7 separate regions of the Homo sapiens genome follow, and all the other regions are linked to region 1. The links are contacts of gene promoters, found by promoter capture Hi-C in blood cells and fetal thymus (Javierre and others, 2016). All regions are on one chromosome and are shown on one strand. Each heading gives the region's core, a stretch centred on a gene start or on the middle of the fragment in contact. The rest is flanking DNA. Distances are from core to core; before and after follow the strand shown.

The links. Contacts are between HindIII fragments. The CHiCAGO score rates a contact against its expected background, and 5 or more counts as called.
Region 2: a contact is called between the fragment with the promoter of C11orf91 here and the fragment with the promoter of ABTB2 in region 1, in 8 of 17 cell types (total CD8 T cells, fetal thymus, total CD4 T cells and 5 more). The highest score is 9.6, in total CD8 T cells.
Region 3: the fragment with the promoter of FBXO3 here is called in contact with the fragment with the promoter of ABTB2 in region 1 in 8 of 17 cell types (neutrophils, total CD8 T cells, naive CD8 T cells and 5 more); the score reaches 7.1 in neutrophils.
Region 4: a fragment that was not itself captured here is called in contact with the fragment with the promoter of ABTB2 in region 1 in 4 of 17 cell types (erythroblasts, naive B cells, megakaryocytes and 1 more); the score reaches 7.9 in erythroblasts.
Region 5: a fragment that was not itself captured here is called in contact with the fragment with the promoter of ABTB2 in region 1 in 4 of 17 cell types (neutrophils, naive B cells, naive CD4 T cells and 1 more); the score reaches 6.7 in neutrophils.
Region 6: a contact is called between a fragment that was not itself captured here and the fragment with the promoter of ABTB2 in region 1, in 1 of 17 cell types (M2 macrophages). The highest score is 5.8, in M2 macrophages.
Region 7: a fragment that was not itself captured here is called in contact with the fragment with the promoter of ABTB2 in region 1 in 11 of 17 cell types (M0 macrophages, megakaryocytes, naive B cells and 8 more); the score reaches 10.3 in M0 macrophages.

Annotation. Positions count from the first base shown.
Region 1 is chr11:34,356,733-34,359,303 of GRCh38, forward strand. ABTB2 (ankyrin repeat and BTB domain containing 2) reads right to left here and starts at 1,278. Exons shown (of 17, transcript NM_145804.3): 1 at 1-1,278. The coding sequence starts at 851. RefSeq lists an enhancer at 204-313 and a silencer at 1,264-1,463. The HindIII fragment of the contact is 9,392 bases long and covers 1-2,571 here.
Region 2 is chr11:33,699,528-33,702,098 of GRCh38, forward strand. It overlaps C11orf91 (chromosome 11 open reading frame 91), which reads right to left and starts at 1,299. Exons shown (of 2, transcript NM_001166692.2): 1 at 718-1,299. The coding sequence starts at 1,213. RefSeq lists silencers at 965-1,054, 1,235-1,474. The HindIII fragment of the contact is 1,250 bases long and covers 336-1,585 here.
Region 3 is chr11:33,773,241-33,775,811 of GRCh38, forward strand. FBXO3 (F-box protein 3) reads right to left here and starts at 1,280. Exons shown (of 11, transcript NM_012175.4): 1 at 1,154-1,280. The coding sequence starts at 1,257. It overlaps FBXO3-DT (FBXO3 divergent transcript), which reads left to right and starts at 1,459. Exons shown (of 3, transcript NR_120550.1): 1 at 1,459-1,511; 2 at 2,014-2,123; 3 at 2,208-2,430. RefSeq lists an enhancer at 294-794 and silencers at 743-812, 1,273-1,372. The HindIII fragment of the contact is 5,455 bases long and covers 1-2,424 here.
Region 4 is chr11:33,792,816-33,795,386 of GRCh38, forward strand. No RefSeq gene overlaps it. Among named protein-coding and RNA genes, the nearest start is that of LINC02722, 11 kb to the right of the region's middle. The HindIII fragment of the contact is 1,185 bases long and covers 681-1,865 here.
Region 5 is chr11:33,812,555-33,815,125 of GRCh38, forward strand. It overlaps LINC02721 (long intergenic non-protein coding RNA 2721), which reads right to left. Exons shown (of 3, transcript NR_183773.1): 3 at 1,587-2,413. Among named protein-coding and RNA genes, the nearest start is that of LINC02721, 8.5 kb to the right of the region's middle. The HindIII fragment of the contact is 4,873 bases long and covers 1-2,571 here.
Region 6 is chr11:34,894,322-34,896,892 of GRCh38, forward strand. APIP (APAF1 interacting protein) reads right to left here. Exons shown (of 7, transcript NM_015957.4): 2 at 689-789. Among named protein-coding and RNA genes, the nearest start is that of APIP, 21 kb to the right of the region's middle. The HindIII fragment of the contact is 4,090 bases long and covers 1-2,571 here.
Region 7 is chr11:33,830,062-33,832,632 of GRCh38, forward strand. No RefSeq gene overlaps it. Among named protein-coding and RNA genes, the nearest start is that of LINC02721, 9.0 kb to the left of the region's middle. The HindIII fragment of the contact is 900 bases long and covers 829-1,728 here.

The DNA of each region.
Region 1 (2,571 bases), core at 28-2,527:
TAGGGCTGCAAGACGCCCCAGAGCTCGGCGTCGTTGTTGATGACCATCTCCAGGGCCTCAGCAGACACCTCCCCGCCTCCGGCCCCTCCGCCATCAGGGCTGTGGCTGGCCATCACCCTGGCCCGGATCTCCTCCACCAGGTTCTCCATGCAGGCGGTGAGGGAGATGGCTGCGTACTCGTGGATGCGCACGGAGATTCGGGTGTCCACCATCCAGCGGAAAAAGCGACCCACTGAGAAGGTGAGGCCGCAGCGCGCGGACTTGCCCCGGCGCAGCCCGTCGCCGGCGCTCATGCTGTACAGGGACAGCGCCTTGACGGCTGCCAGCGCGCAGCTCTCGGCCAGCGCCCAGCTGTGCACCAGGCGCACGGCGCTCTGCACCTCAAAGCGGGTGCACTTGGCGTGCAGCACGCTCAGGCGCTGCGCCTCGCGGGCCACGCGGATCAGTGCCCTGCGGAGCAGCCCGGCCAGGCGCCTCACCGCCTCGGCGGAGAACTGGGGCAGCCGCCGGCCGCCAGCGCCTTTGCGGAGCACCCGGGCCACGTCTCCTTCGGTCCAGGGGAACTCCTCCAGCTCGGGGAGCCGCGGACAGCGCGAGAAGAGGTCGGCCACTTCGGGGTCCTCGGGCAGCACCGTGTTCACCGTGTCCCAGCTGTTGTGGCGGCTGTTCATGGAGCCGGAGTAGCACCACCAGGCCGCCCCGCGGTGCTGCTGCGCCGAAGAGTTGAGCGCCTGCGAGTTGGACTTGGAGGACGAGAGGCTGAGCGAGCGGCACGAGTCCCCGGCCCCATACCCGGAGTCCAAGGTCAAGTCCTCCAGCGTCTTCAGAGTCGAGCTGTACGTCCCGGCCATGGGGAGCCTGCCGAGGGCGGCGTCGCCGAGCGAGGGGCACTCACAACTCCATGCCCTCTTTCCCAAGTGGGCAGAAACAAGCTCTAGGCCCTCCGGGCCACCCTCCTTCCTCTCTGCGTCGCGGGGCTCGGCGGCCGCATTGCCTGCCCGGAGGCCGCGGGAAGGTGGCCGAGATCCGTGGCCAGCAGGAGCCCCACGCTCCCGGCGTCCCGACTCGCAGCTGCCACTGGAAAGAACCCCGTCGCTACCCCCCGGCACTCCCCCTTGTCCACCTCTAATTCCCACAAGCAGAGAGTCAGTCCTCCACAGAGAAGGAATCCCGGGAGAACAGGGCGGCGGCGGCAGAAGGAGGAGGCGGCGGCGCAGGGCGCAGGGCGCAGCGCGAGTCCGGGACCAGCCGGCGAGAAAGCGCTCTGCAAACTTCTGCGCTGCGCCGGCCGGCAGCACAGCTGGGTACCCGGCTGCGTCCGACATGCAAATAACCCCGGGCGGCTTACCAATCACCGGCCGCGATGGGCGGGGCTGCACCAATGATCTCCGAGGGGGCGGTCACTATGCAGATTTCACTCTGCCTCGGGTTAAACCCCGCGGCGAAGGAGGCGGGGCTGGAGGCCGAGGGTCGGGCACGCGGCTGGGATGGGGGTGGGGATGGGGGGGGATGGGGGGGATGGGGGGGTGGGGGAAGGGCGAGCCAGCCAACTGGGAGGTGGAGGTGGAGACCGGAAAGCAGCGGTCGAAACGATAGCTCCGGAGCTCACGATTTAAAGAAAAATGCAAAGGAAAAGCTACAGGGCGCTGCCACCTTCCCGCCACCCAGGCTTTGGGCGTTCGCTGCTCGCTTTCGAGCCCTCCGCAGCCAGGCGTCCTGGGGTTGGGGCCAGGAGAATGGGGAGGGCCCCATCCAGGCGCTCCACCTCTCCTCCACCTTCCGCCAGGCCCCTCCCGCAATCCGAGATGAAACGCTGGCTGTGTTTGGAGGGAGGAGGGAGTCCCTGCCTCTCTTTCCAAGTCCGTCTGGTTCCTTTGCGCTGCCGTCTAGGCTCCAATAAGGACAGAATTTCTTAACCTGGTATCTGATCAATGGACGGGCCCCAGGAAGCCTGTGAGTGCCTCCGCCCATTTGTGGTTTCACCTGCAGTTTTCTGAGTGCCACTATGGGGAAGGGGCACCAACTTTTGTCAGATTCTCAAGAGGATCCGTGACTTCCCTGTTACCTCTGTGTGACGATACCACTTGCTGTCAGGTGGGTCCTTTTTGTCCGAGATAGACAGTGTTCTTACAGGAAGAATGAGAAGAAGGTGGCAGAGCAGTCCCTCGCCCTGGGCTGAGCTCGGAACACCTAGCTGGATGCAGGTGTTCGCCTCCTAACGCGTGCCGGTGGGCGAGCCGTATGCCCCCGCGGGACCCAGTTCCTCCGGGGTACAATGAGTGGCTGACCTCCAGGCAGCGCCAGTGCCAACCTGCCTCCGGGCGGGTGTCCCAAACGGTCCGCCAGAGCGCTGTTGGTTCAGCAGTCCCATGCCCGGTGCAGGCATGTCCCGCCGCTGCCCTGTGGCTACTCACACGCACGTGCGCAAACGGACCTGTGCCCCCTCCAGTGGAACCGCAGGCTCAAGGCGGGGATTGTGCATTCGCTCTCCCCAAGTCAGCCTCCCCCACTCCTGAATGGCTCCTTTGTGTTGCATTTTACACAGTTCTGACCTTGGGCCGTGAGTTGGAT
Region 2 (2,571 bases), core at 49-2,548, 660 kb before region 1:
TTAACAACTTTACCCTCCAACAGGGAGGAGTCATTCAGCTCGTAGGCTGAGGGATCCTGCCCGCATCAGCACACGTGGTCCAGAGCCCTAAGACTTCAGACGTAAGACCAGATATCAGCCCAGGATCCTGGTGAGAGAACTACCGGCGCCAAGGCCACAGAGTCCCAGGGGGGCTGCCCCCCAGCATTGAGAAGTGGAGTGTCCCAAAGCTGCCCTGGAAACGGCCTTGGGCCTTGTGGTTCTTGCACAACTCCCACCTCCCCCTACAGACAACTGACAGTCACCTTACTTCACCTTCCCCCCATGGAGAGCCCCGGTTTAGGACCGAACATTAAAGCTTAGGGACTGTCTGTGGTGGGTGGAGCTCCAGAGTACAGGGTAGGAGGATGACTGTGCAGGAGGATTAAAGTTCAGGACGGGGTGGTGGCGGATGGAGTTCCAGGTGTGGAGGCTCAGAGTCCAGATGACCCAAAGGGTTTAGGACGGAGGGAGGATGGAGTTTGGGACTAAGAGGCTCATGAAGTTCAGATCTGTGGTGGGGGGAGGAGTCGGTTAAGTCCAGGATAAGGGAGTCTGGGTGCTAGGGGATAGATTTTGGATCTGGGACTACTGGGGGCTGGAGTCAAACCAGGCTACATTTCGGGTCGGGGCACGGAGCCAAGGAGGGAGCTAGGGCAGGCTAAGGCTGGGCTCGGTGGCCCTGGCGAGGTCACGCACAGCTCTGGGAGTCGAAGCCGTCCCCAGTGATGGTGAGCAACTCCAGCTCCTTAATCCGGATCTCCAGCTCGCAGAGCTCCTCCGGGTGGGAGGCAGAGGCGAGCCTGGGGGTCGAGGGGCAGGGGACCAGGGGCGAGGCAACCACCTCAGGCCCCGGCGGCGGTGAGTAGAAGAAGCGCAGAGGCTCGTAGGGGATGGAGGCCAGGCCGGAGGGCCAGGGCGAGGGCCAGGGGCGCTCGCTGGAGGGACCCAGGCCGGGTGGTGGCGGGGGCGGGGGCGCCGGGGCGGGGAGCGCCTGGGACAGGGACCGGGCCCCCGCCGCCCCGCCCACTGGCGCCCCGCCCGCCTTCAGCGGCACGAAGAGCTTCTTCCAGATGTTGAAGTCGCTGAGCGGGGACGAGGAGATGCCGCGGTCGTACAGGGACGGGAAATAGAGGGGCGGAGCCGACCGCTGGCTCATGGTGGGGCTGTGGCTGCCGCGCCGCCCCTTTGGCATCGTTTGAATGAGGGTCTGCGTGGGAGGAACCCCGCGCCGGGAGACGCGCGCTCAGGCCCCGAGTCGCCGGGGTTTCGAGGTTCCACAAGCCCCGCCCCGATGGAGCGCGGCCCCACCCTTTCGCCTCAGCCCGGCCCCTAACAGGCGGGGTTCCAAAGCCCGGACGACCACGTCCCGGAACGCGGCCCCGCCCACCTCGGCTGGCCGCACCCCGCAGTTAGAAAGCCACGCCCCCTGGCTCGCCTCGCCTCGCCTCCCGTCCCTCGACTCCGCCCACCGCCTCGCTCTTGCTCTGCGACCCCGCTGGCTTCCGTTGTCATATCCCAGCATACCCTCATCCAGAACAGGCAGCGGGCCAGGGCTGCAGAAGAAAGCTTACTTCAGGCTTCCTCTCTTTCTCCCATGAGGGAGAAAAGTATTTCCTAGAAACCTGGCCCCTGCACCAGCAGACTTACCTCATTGCCTCACTGGCCGCGCCCACAGCAAAGAAGTCTGAGAAAATCAGTGTCTGATTTTTCATCCACTACTGTGGGAGGCAGACAAAGGAGAAGAGGATTGATTGGGAATGGCTGTTAGAGCCAACCTATGTATCTGCCAAACGTTAGCAGTGTTGAGGAAGATTCTAGAAAAGGGGATCCTCATCTGGTTTGTAATAGACCTGAAGGAGTGTTTTCAGTGAAATGCAGTTTAGTTCTCTTCCAAACACAGATATCACCAGGAGCTAACAGGCAACGAGCTAACCACCAAAAGGAAATCCTGTCCGCCCTACCTCAAATACTTCACCCATTGCTTATGAGCGATTTGGACATTTTGTCCAAAGGACATGACAGCTCATTTATGTGAGTAACCTGTATTAGCCATAGACTGAGGGGAAATAACTAATACATTTTCTTGAGAGCCTCTGCCTAATGATCACTGGTATGACTAGTGATGGGTGGAGGGCAGTTAAAGAGTCAGTATCAGCTTCACAAGTTAAATATATATATGCATATGTATCTGCACACACAGTGCAAAGTGTGTGTGTGTGTGTGTGTGTGTGTGTAGCAGCAAAGTGGAGAGAGTCAGATATTCAAGCTGGGTAGCCTTGGACAAGTTGCTTGACTTTTAAGTAGGTTTTCCATAAAATAGAAATAAGAAAACCAGGCTGCCTCATAGGGTTGTGATCAAACAGAAGACGGAACAGTGTGTGTGTGAAACACTTGAACTTGGACACTTTGTCCAAACACAAGAGGCAGCTGTCCCTACTAAGGGGCATGTCTGAAACTGGGAAGCTTTTTCTTCCCACACTGAGCTTCCCACACTTAGTTGTCACACGCAGTATTTGCTCTCTGACTTTGGCAGCCACCCATCATTGTTTA
Region 3 (2,571 bases), core at 30-2,529, 580 kb before region 1:
AAAAGTTGGAGACTGTTAGTTAAATTGTAAGTATTTTCTAGAAAAATAAAATTGCTAGCAGGTACAGGTAGCGACCAGTACAGGTAGTGACCAAAAACTTGAGGTATCTCTCTATCACCACTTAGCTAGGCCAACAACTATCTGTAGCTCCAAGAAATCTGTATTTATAAAAAGACCTCTAATAACACAGGGCACAATCATCAAATGGCTAGAATCTAATGGTTAATCCAAACACAAAACAAATCTCGCCCACCTATCCTAAGAGGGCGACTTTGCATCCTCTGCAAATATATACGGTAGCACAGGAAACTCACAGCCATGCCACCCCCTGTCAAGGGTGTAAACAATCCTGACAGCTGGGGGGCGGGCTGGCAGCGCCATTTCTTCCACCACCCCAGACAGTCCCAAGTTCTGAAGAAACTGGGCATTGAACCACCCTTATCAGCAACCGGTGTTTATTTCTGGAACAGATGCTAGTAATGTGGGAAACCCAAGGTGTCCAGGAGAAAAGATAGTCACCGGTATGGCATCACCGGAAGTCAGTACCAAAACATAAAATCCAACATCGAACCGTAAGGAGCAATGCTGACAGCAAAACAATTCTCACGCACTGAAGTCCGAAAGTGAGCCCGGACAGCGATTCTGGCGCTGGGGAAGTCGCGCCAGGGGAGTAAGGGGTTGCCTATCTTCTCCTCTCGCTCACCCACCTGCCCACCCCGGCGCCAGACTCCGCAGGCCCCGGACCCAGCAGAGAAGAGCGCCTGGCCGGGACAGGGGCTTTTACACAGCAGCAGGGACTGACCCCAACCGGGCGGGCACCTGCGGGGCCAGCGGGGGTCCGCGGAGCGCGGCGGTGCGGCACGAGGGCCACTACCTCCTTCTCTTGCAAGTGGGCCTCACCGAGGCCTGGGAGAGAGATATCTCGTCGCTTCTCATACCTGGGCCCAGGACAGGAGGAAGACTCAGGGCGAGGCCCTTTCCGCCCCCGTCTCGCCCCGGTCCCCGGTGGCTCCGCAGGATGAGGGCGGCCCTGGCGTCACCTTCTGGTGTCGCGGAAGCTCGGGTCCTGTCAGCGGCCCCGACCCCCTTTCCCCCTGCCTCACCGCCTCCTCTCCCCATGCCCCCACCCCTGCCATGCGTGTCGTCCCATTACTTGATTAGATCCCGATAGTCCAAAAAGGATAAGATGAGGAGCAGGGGATCGGTGGGCAGCGACTCTAGGGTCAGCGGCGCCGTCTCGGTCTCCATGGCCGCCATCTTGCCTGGCCCGGTGCAGGTCTGGCCCCGCCCTGGCCCCGCCCCTGCCCCGCCCCCACCAGCGCCCGAACCGCCCCCAGCCGCTCTCACAGGTTTGTTATGTAACCGCCGGGCCAGCCCCGCCCTCAGGGTGGGCTGAGGTGCGGCTCCCTGGAGACCCCGCCCGCTAGCCGGGAGCCAGCGGCGCAGTGCGAGTTCAGCCCGCTTTCTTCGCGCTCCGCGTCAAATCTCTCCAGCTCTGTTCTCGCATCCCGGTTCGTAAACTTGCCCAGCCCGGGACCCTTTTGTTGCCAAATCTGCCTCGGTCTGCCCAACTCCTCCTGCGAAATTTTACACTCAGTATGCAGGAAGCCTCGCTCAAAATCTGACACTCCTCCACGCCCTTGGTCCCCAAATCCATTCCTTCTCTTTGTTTTCCAACCCGAGAACCCCTCGTTTTCCCCGCTCAGCCTTCCCCACCCCGCTTGTCCCCCGCACACAGCAGGGCCGCTCCGAGACTTGTCCACTCAGCAAGAGCAGAGCTGAGAATCAGCCAGGGACGCCAGCTGAAGGCCCTTCTCCCAAATTAAGGAAATAATTGTTGAGGGCTTAACTTCACGCCCCTCCCCGCCTTCCTAAGTAAAATGTGTACAAGGAGTGAGTCTGAGTCTCAGCCGCTGTCCCTTAATTTGGTTATCATGGCTATTTTCAGCCTATTAGGGCAATGCAAAGGGTACAGTGTGGATTTTTTCCAGCTTTAAAATTTATTTTGGCCAGGGTTTAGATCCCGCAGAGTTAAGTATCCCGCGTGTGAAGGGATGAACTGAGACTCCCAGAGGGCATAACTGATGGAGGCACGAAGATGTCTGCTCTTCAGCTTTGCCAAGGTGATATTAAAATGAGAGTGGGGGAAGTATAATGGGTCCATACATCACTTGCCTGATTTCTTCTTTTCCATTGCTTTTCCAAAGGTAGTATGGTGTAAGGGGCTTTGGGGAATCCAGACAGACCTGGACTTCACACGCCCGTCATTTATTTCACTACTAGTGAAATGCTGGCGTAGTTACGCCTAAGTTCTCTGAGACTGTCCCTCATCTCTAAAACCACCCCTCCTCTGGTGAACTAAGGATGGCGATAACGCTTTATGTAAAGTGCCTGGCCAGATACTCAATAAATGTTAATTTTCCAAGCTTATACATGCATCAGTCACTAAGTTCTCCAAACATTTCCATATCCTGGAGAAAGTTTCTCTCAATTATTTGGAAGAGTGGAAGTGATATGCCCCGCCCCAAAAAAATCCATTTCCTCCATTCTTCATACCATTAATGCCTTCTA
Region 4 (2,571 bases), core at 23-2,522, 560 kb before region 1:
GAAACAAGGTGAAGCTGTCCTAGGAGAGACCTATTCTCCTCAGGGAAAGGCAACAGCAAATTTGATTTGTGTAACAAAAATATATTCCATACATAGAAATTGACAAACTGAATTTAAAATTTAGTCAAAAAGGCAAAGGACCTAGAATAGCCAAAACAATCTTCAGAAAGAAAAAGTCTGGAGGTCTTAACTTCAGGACTTAATAAAAGCTGCAGTCAGACTGGACGCGGTGGCTCATGGCTGCAATCCCAGCACTTTGGGAGGCCAAGGCAGGTGGATCACTTGAGGTCAGGAGTTTGAGACTAGCCTGGCCAACATGGTAAAACCCTGTCTCTATTAAAAATACCTAAAGTTAGCCGGACGTGGTGGCAGGTACCTGTAGTTCCAGCTACTTGGGAGGCTGAGGCAGGAGAATCGCTTTATGTAGGCATAAACCTGGGAGGCAGAGGTTGCAGCGGGCCAAGATTGCACCACTACACTCCAGCCTGGGTAACAGAGTGAGACTCCATCTCAAAAAAAAAAAAAAAAAAAAAAAAAAGCTGCAATTATCAAGACAGTGTGGTATTAGTGAAATAAATGACAGATCCATGAAACAGAATGAAGAAACCTGAAATAGAATCACATGTATATGGTGAGAGTCCCAAAACCTTTTTGTATATACAGTACAGTAGAGAGAAGAAAGCTTTCTTAGGGTGCTTTAACCAACTCTATTGAGGTATAATTTATATACAATATTATGCTTTCAGTTCAATGAGTTTTGACAGGTGTATAAGCCTGTGTAACCATTATCACAATGTTCTACATTTTCAATACCCTCAGAGAATTCCTTTGTGCCTCTTTGCTGCCAGTTCCTCCCCAAGCCTCAGCCCCAAGCAACTGCTGATCTGCGGTCACTATAGATGAGTTATGCCTTTTCTAGAATGTCCTATGCCTGGACTCATACAATAGATAGTCTTTTGTGTCTAACATATTTATGATGAAATATTGGAAACATTCCCTTTGAGACTGGGAATGAGACAGGAATGTCCACTATCACTGCTTAAATTCAACATTGTACTAAATAGTCAGTGAAGTAAGGCAAGAAAATAAAATATATGGTAAAAGATATTGGAAAGAAGAAATAAAACTGTATAATTTGCAGATTATATCATTATGTGTTTTGAAAACCCAAAAGAATCTACATAAAAATGTTAGTTACTATGAGTGCATCTTCAGTTTCCTGAATATAAAATCAATATATTAAATTATATTTCTAGGCCAGGCACAGTGGCTCATGCCTGTAATCCTAGCACTTTGGGAGCCCAAGGTAGGCAGATTGCCTGAGCTCAGGAGTTCAAGATCAGCCTAGACAACATGGTGAAACCCCATCTCTACTAAAAATACAAATAAATTAGCTGGGCATGGTGGTGCATGCCTGTAGTCCCAGCTACTCAGAGCTGAGGCACAAGAATCATTTGAACCCGGGAGGCAGCAGAGGCTGCAGTGAGCCAAGATTGTGCCACTGCACTCCAGCCTGGGAAACAGAGTGAGACTCTGTCTCAAAAAGAAAAAAATATATATTTCTATACATAAACCACACAATTAGAAAGCTGAAATTTAAAAAGGTAACATTTACAATAGCAATGAAAAATAGAACCTGGAAAGAAATCTAACAAAACTTATGCAAGAATTATTGGAAAAAATTATAAAACCAATAAAAGGCATTTTAAAATACCTAAATAAATGAAGAGCTATAACTTTTTAACTTACTACAAATAAATTGATTTAAAAACTCCATATCATAGAAATATAAATGATCACAAATTGATCTGAACATCCAACAATAAAAATACAAATCTCAATGGATATTTTGGTAAAATTTGGCAAGCTTATTTAAATATTTGGATGAAAAAGCACTAGTCCAAAAAAACGCCAAAATACTCTTGATGAAAATGAATATGATGGGGAGAATTGCCCTACCAGATATAAATCTATAACAATTAATTCAGGGCAGTATTGTCGTAGAGATAGAAAAAAATACACTAATGCGTTAGAATAGACAGCTCAGAAAAGCAATAGGAATATATGGACAATGTAATATATGGTGAAGGTGCTATAACAGATCAGTGAAGGAAAGTTTGAATTTTTTCAGTAAATGGCTCTGAGATCACATGAATAAAGAAAAATCAGAGGCTAGAGGAATTTTAAAAAGATACAGGACTTGTATAAAACAAACAGCAAAATGGCAGGCATAAATCCTACTGTATCCATAACTGGATTAAATATAAATGGATTAAACATTCCAATTAAAAGGCAGAGATTGGCAGAAAGGACTAAAAAACAAACAAACATGATCCAACCATATTATGACTAAAGAGAACACTTTAGAACCAAACAAACAAATAGGTTGAAAGTAAAAGAATGGAAAGCTATACTAAGGAAAAATAACCGAAAGAGAGCTGGAGTGATTGTATTAATAACAGACAAAATGGATTTTAAGGCAAAAATTGTTCTAGAGACAAATACAATTTATAACAATTAAGGATTAATCCATTAAAAAGATAGAAATATTATAAACATGTATGCACCTAA
Region 5 (2,571 bases), core at 27-2,526, 540 kb before region 1:
CTGTATTTTTGGGTCACCCTCGTGTTATTTATTTAACCCATGGTGACTGAAATTTGTACATATTGGAACAATGCAAATTGAAGACTGTATGTATGTATGTATGTGTATTTATATATAACATATGTATATATTATTTAGATATATTATGTATATAATTATGTACTGTGTATACATACACACACTAAATATATATATACACATATATACATATATACACATATACATACACATATATACATATATACACATATATACGTATATATATATATCACATATATATATCTCACACACAAATACATCATGGTCAACTAGAATTAATTCCAGGAATCCAAGGTTGGCTTAATATTCAAAAATCAATCAATGTAATTCATTATACTTTTTTAAAAAAGAAAAACCATATAATAATCTAAATATATACAGAAAAATATTTGACAAAATTTAATACCCATTGATGATAAAAAAAAAATCTCAGCAGACTTGGAATTTAAGGGAACTTCCTCAGCCTTTGCCTTATCAGGGGCATGTATGAAAAACCTACAGCATCATACTTAATGGTATGATATACTATATTTAGATATACTATATATTATATATATAAAATTTACTGGATACATATATATACACACTAAATATACATATATACATAACACTGAATACTGAGTACTTTCTGAATACTGAATAACTGAATACCTTCTCCTTACTAATGGAAACAAGTGGAGGATGTCTGGTCTCACTAGTTTCATTTAACATTGTGTTGGAGGTCTCAGCAAGTGCAAAATGGCATATAGATAGGAAAAGAAGGAAACAAATTTTATTGGCTCATGACATGGTCATATTTATAGAAAATCATAAGGAATCTTTTTTAAAATCTCCTGGACTATTAAGTAAATTTAGCTAAGTCACAAAACACAAGATCACTATACAAAAATTGGTAATACTTTTATATACCAGCAATGAATAATTGAAAATGAAAAAAAAATTTTTTTGAGATGGAGTCTCGCTCTGTCACCCAGGCTGGAGTGCAATGGCACCATCTCGGCTCACTGCAACTTCTGCCTCCCGGGTTCAAGCAATTCTCCTGCCTCAGCCTCCCGAGTAGCTGGGATTACAGGCGCCTGCCATCATGCCTGGCTAATTTTTGTATTTTTGTAGAGACAAGGTTTCATTATATTGGCAAGGCTGCTCTTGAACTCCTGACCTCAGGTGATCCACCTGCCTCTGCCTCTCAAAGTGCTGGGATTACAGGCATAAGCCACCACGCCTGGCCTGAAAATGAAATTTTTAAATGCCATTTATAACAGCACCCAAAACTATGAAATATATTCAGTGAAATTTTAATGAAATATGTGCAAACATGTACACCAAAAACTATAACATAATGTTGAAGGAAAATGGAGATATATACTGGATTTATGAATCGGAAAATTCAATATCATTAAATGGCATTTCTTCCCCAATTGAGTTATGTATTCTGTGCAAACCTAGCAGGCTTGTTTTCTTTTAGAAGTTGGCAAGCTGAAATTTATATAAAATATGACCTTTGTGCCATAGAATAGCTCAAACAATTTTGGAAAAGAACAAAAAGCTGAAGGATATAATTTATTGAAAGACTTAATATAAACATGGAGCAATCACATAATTATTGTAGATATAAGTAGAGAAATGTAAACTAATACAACAATAAAGCATCTAGAATTAGATCCACTTATGTATGGTCAATTTATTTTTTTCAGTTAAGGTGCCAACAGGGGAAATGGTGTTTTCAACCGATAGTGTGGTAAAAATGGGATATCAATTTGGGGGGAAAATTGAATCTCAACTCTTATCTCACGTCATACAGAAAAGTTGACTTAAAATGGGTCATAGAACTAAATATAAGGCTAAGGTTATCAAACTTCTAGAAGAAAATATAGGAGAAAATATTGTAGCCTTTGGATAGGCAAATGTTTCTTGTATAAGAATAAGAAGCATGAACCATACAAAAAAAAAGTTGAGAAGTTAGACTTCATTTAAATCAAACATTTCTCTTCTCCCAACACTCCATTAAGAAAATGAAATGGCAAGTTATGGCCTGGGAGAAAATATTTGCAATATGTACATCTGCATAGGGCTTGTACCTAGAATTTATAAAGTACTCATCCAACTCAGTAAGAAGACAAACCACCCAATACAAAAATGGGCATGATAAGAAGAATTTTAAGCTCTTGAAGCAGAAGAGAAGCTCTCCTGTTGGCCTGGAAACGAGCCACCATGAGTTCTATAGCGGCAGAGAAATGAATTCTGCAGACAACCACCTGTGCTTGGAAGAAGACCTGAGTCTCAGATCACACTGTAGCCCAGGCTGACACCTTGATTGCAGCCTTGTGAGACTTGGAGCGGAAGAGCCAGCTGAGCCACGGCTTGCCTATGGAAACTGAGAGACAGTAAGTGGACTTTAGTTTTTGGTTTAGGCTGACAAATGTGTGGTGATATGTAGAAAACTATAACAATACAATAAGCAAAAGATATGCATATACTTCATAAAACAAGATATATGGATAGCCAATAAACACAAGAGGTTCAACATCAGTC
Region 6 (2,571 bases), core at 30-2,529, 540 kb after region 1:
AAAAAATAATTATTAGGATTTTTAATGATTAGTCATCTGTATTTAAGTGACTTTGAAATATGTATCTGGGAGGTCAAGGCAGGTGGGTTGCTTGAGCCTAGGAGTTTGAGACCAGCCCATGCAACTTAGTGAGACCCAGTCTCTACAAAAAAAAAAAAAAAAAAAACCCCAGAAAAAATTAGCCAGGCGTGGTCGCACATGCCTGTAGTCCCAGCTGCCCAGGAGGATGAGGTAGGAGGATTGTTTAAGCCTGGGAAGTCAAGGCTGCAGTGAGCCATGATCGCCCCACTGCACTCCAGCCTGGGTGACAGAGCAAGACTCTGTTTCAAAAACCAAAGTACCTGAACCTTTGAAACAAATCCTATCTACCTAGAGAGGATCCTCTAGAATCTCAGGTATATGAACATACTTGGTAGCATGTTATTTAACTCTGGTACTCAAAAACTGAGTATTAAGTTATTGTGATTTGAAATTGTGGATCTTCAGTCTTTAGCTATTTGACATATCTGCAGCTTTTGTACATTGCTTCCATTCAGTTACACAAATGTCCACTTGTCCATTTAGAAACTAAAGACCTTCAGTATCACATAAAACTGATCATCAGTTGTTCTTTGGATATAACACATTAGACTTGCTGTGGTCTACTCAAATGGAGAGTTCCCAGTAATAAAGGCTGCCAGAAACTTACCCATGCTTCAAGCTAATTCCTCCTCCAGTCCCAGTGACCCAGCCTAAATGGTAAAACTGTTTGCAAAGTTCTGGGATCAGGTATCTTGGATGCTCCTTGTCCTTAAAAAGAAGGTAATGATTTTTAAAACAGACATCATTTTATCAAGTAACTATTCCAGCTGGTGTTTCTAATAAGAAGCCAATTTAAGAAAGTTTAAGAAAACATACTATAGAAAGAGTACAGTGAAGGAAAAAACTATTACAAACATATTTTGTTTTTAATGTTTAGAAAGTGGATCTACTACATTATTTGGCAACCTGGGAGTATTCGGTATAGGGCCATATAGTCCAACACTAAGGAACAGGCTGCAAAAACAAGGTGGGGAAATGCCTAGTATACATTACAAAGCATCAACTGAAATGGCTGAAAGAAAATAGAATCTCATGCTGAAGGAACAGTCTCTCCAGAAGATTTATTTACACAAAACACCTTATTTAACTAGGTTTGATGATATATACATGAGATATTATGATAGTTACATGTTCAACACATACTCTGTGTGTTGGTTCAATTGTATTTTTATTCCAAAAAAGTCCTTTTTCCCACAATGATTTTAGTTTCTCTTATTGAAAAAGCAATATATACTCATTATAGAAAATAAAGTGAAGCAAATTACAAAAAACACTAAGAAACAACCTCAATTAATACTTGCTTAACCCATTTTATGAAGATACGTGTTTATGAGTGTATGTGTGTGTATACAGACAGATAAATATCAAGTGTTATTTTTATAAGTCCAATGATTACTTCTTTAGAAAAAAGAGCCCACACCATTTTCTCCTGCTTTTTTGTGGTTTAAATTAATGAAAACAAAAATAAATAAATAAATAAATAAATGAAGAAGAAATACAATGAATTCCATTTTGGGCAGTATAATATACAATCCTTATCTTAAAAATAAGTACAAATGCTGAATAAATTATTTTTTAAAATATTTCAAAATAAGTTGTTGAGCTGGCAAGAAAGTAAAGTTTCACAGGGGCCATAAAAAATGAGAATGAGACTCTCACACCAGTTGGAATGGCGATCATTAAAAAGTCAGGAAACAATAGATGCTGGAGAGGATGTGGAGAAATAGGAATGCTTTTACACTGTTGGTGGGAGTGTAAATTAGTTCAACCATTGTGGAAGACAGTGTGGCGATTCCTCAAGGATCTAGAACCAGAAATACCATTTGACCTAGCAATCCCATTACTGGGATTCTACTATAAAGACACATACGTATGTTTACTGCAGCACTATTTACAATAGCAAAGACTTGGAACCAACCCAAATACCCATCAATGATAGAATGGATAAAGAAAATGTGACACATATACACAATGGAATACTATGCAGCCATAAAAAAGGATGAGCTCACGTCCTTTGCAGGGACATGGATGAAGCTGGAAACCATCATTCTCAGCAAACTAACACAGGAGCAGAAAACCAAACACTGCATGTTCTCACTCATAAATGGGATTTGAACAATGAGAACACATGGACACAGGGAGGGGAAAATCACACACCAGGGCCTGTCAGCAGATGGGGGGCTAGAGAAGGGATAGCATTAGGAGAAATACCTAACATAGATGATGAGTTGAGGGGTGCAGCAAACCACCATGGCACGTGTATACCTAAGTAACAAACCTGTAAGTTCTGCACACGTATCCCAGAACTTAAAAGCATAATAAAGCAACAACAACAACAACAAAGGAAAATGAGACTACCTGGGAGAGAAGTGAGCGCCAAAGCCAGAATGTTCCTGAAGGTATTGCAAAACTCTGGTGACCTTGAACTTCAATTTTGATAGCCATGTAAGCCACTAGAAGCATGAGACAAAACCCAGGGCCTGATCAATT
Region 7 (2,571 bases), core at 29-2,528, 530 kb before region 1:
TCTTATTTAATCCATTTTCCATAGGAAACATCGACTCCTGGAAGAAGTTGGTGTGGGCTGCCTGGGAAAGGAGGTTTAGCATCATATGTGGGCTGGTGGTGGTGTGCTCTGGCTAACTTAACATCAAGGGATAGGGAGGTTCTGTCCTCAGACCCAACTGAGTTCCCATCATCCCCCACACCATGCCACCCATCAGTGAGTACAACCTGTAGGGATGCCCTGGAGGCCAAACTTCCCCTAAGTGCTGGGCTTTCAGCTTCTCTTCCCAGAACATCAGACTGACTTAGCTTTGGAATAACTTGGAATTGCAGACTGAGCATTCTGAGAATTCTGGTGATGTTGCAGGGTAACCTGAAATGGGCTGCCCTCCAGTGGGGTTATTGGGCAGAGTAAGGGTCAGGATGGAAGTCTGCCACTTTAGCTGAGGCCAATTTATTATTCATTTATTTATTTATTTAGAGACAAATTCTCGCTCTGTCACCCAGGCTGGAGTGCAGTGGTGCGATCTCAGGTCACTGCAACTTCCACCCACCAGGCTCAAGTGTTCTCATACCTCAGTCTCCCGAGTGGCTGGGACTACAGGCATGCACCACCACGCCTGGCTAATTTTTGTATTTTTAGTAGAGACAGTGTTTTGCCATGTTGGACAGGCTGGTCATGAACTCCTGGCCTCAAATGATCCACCAGCCTCAGCCTCCCAATGTGCTGGGCTTACAGGCATGAGCCACCGCACCCAGCCAAGAAATTTAAGTACATTTTCCTTCTATTTATATTTTGTAAGGGGCAGAACCAGGATTTGGACCCAGGTGTCTAACTCTGGAAGCTAAAAGCTTTCCATTATAACAAGTTGCCTCACCTGAGCCCGACTTAAAATCAGGTGATCTCAGCTATACTGGACTCCAACAGGAGTCATTGCTATTTTCTTGCTGTTGTATTTTATTCAAGTTTAGAAAAAGAAATAGCCAAAAAGCTCAGGCAAGGAGCAGACAAGACACAAAGAACTCTGAGTTCTGCCTGGGGAAGGAGCAGGGGACATGAGTCACCTTCCCCTCTAGACACAGTACTGCAATAGGATAATCCTCTCCCAACTTCCAAATAGAAGTGGCCAAATTTAGTGGCAGGAGGAGCTAGGGGCAATGTGATTGCGACTCCCACCTCTATCCAGAGAACTGGCCCTAAAGCATCTCACCTGCTGTTTCACCGAGAGGCTCGTGGTCTCCAGCATCACCCAAGAGCTTCTTAGTAATACAGAATCTTAGGCCCCACACCCAACCCACTGAATCAGAATGTGCATTTTAACAAGATCCCCAGGTGATCCTCATGTACATTACAGTTGGAGAAGTGCCTAGAACTTGACCCTTCACCTCGTTATAACTCAGTAACTTCACTTGTGAATCAGGCACAATAGCACCTGCTTGACTCACCACTCCTGGCTGTATGAGGATCAGAGAGGACAATGTAGGAAGTTAGAGGCAGAGGTGTTCAGGAAGTTATCTCTCGTGCCCCCTCTACCTTCTCCACTGCCATGGAAGCCTAATCTCTCTCTCAGAGGGAGAAGACTAGCAGGTGGCTCTTCTCTGGAAGAGCAGAGGAAATCAGGGACCCTCAACAGCCCATCCTCCATGGCCCCTGGGGGAATCTCTGAAGATTCTAGCTTTTCAACTGAAAGTTAGGCTGTAATTGACACTGTGTAATCCAGTAGACGGAATTTTGCAGAAATAAATATGAAGCTTATATTTGGGTTTTTAAAAAATCAAATTAGGCTGGGTGCTGTGGCTCACGCCTATAATCCCAGCCCTTTGGGAGGCCGAGGCAGGTGGATCACCTGAGGTCAGGAGTTTGAAACCAGCCTGGCGAACGTGGAAAAACCCCATCTTTACTAAAAATACAAAAATTAGCCAGGCATAGTGGTGCATACCTGTAATCCCAACTACTCAGGAGGCTGAGACAGGAGAATCTCTTGAACTTGGGAGGCAGAGGGTGCAGTGAGCAGAGATCGCACCACTGCACTCCCGCCTGGGTGACAGGGCAAGACTCTGTCTCAAAAAAAAAAAAATCAAATTATATAACAAATTATTCATGTGTGTATATATATATATATAGATATTAGGTTGGTACAAAAGTAATTGCGGTTTTTGCATTGTTAGAATTTTCCGTTTGATATTGGAATAAAACATAAGGCAAGAAAAGATAAAATTAAGAACATAATTCTTATTTACATTTAAGAATGTAAATAAATGTGGTTACCGTATACATCATTTTAATGGGCATTTCTCGCTTTATGTTTTTTTGCTAGTTTATTTTATGTTTATTTTAGACTATGGAAATGATGTTAGACAAAAAGCAAATTCGAGTGATTTTCTTATTTGAGTTCAAAATGGGTTGTAAGGCAGCGGAGACAGCTCGCAACATCAGCAGTGCGTTTGGCCCAGGAACTGCTAACAAACATACAGTGCGGTGGTGGTGCAAGAAGTTTTGCAAAGGAGACAAGAGCCTTGAAGGTGAGGAATGTAGTGGCCAGCCGTCGGAAGCTGACAATGACTAATTGAGAGCCATCACTGAAGCTCATCC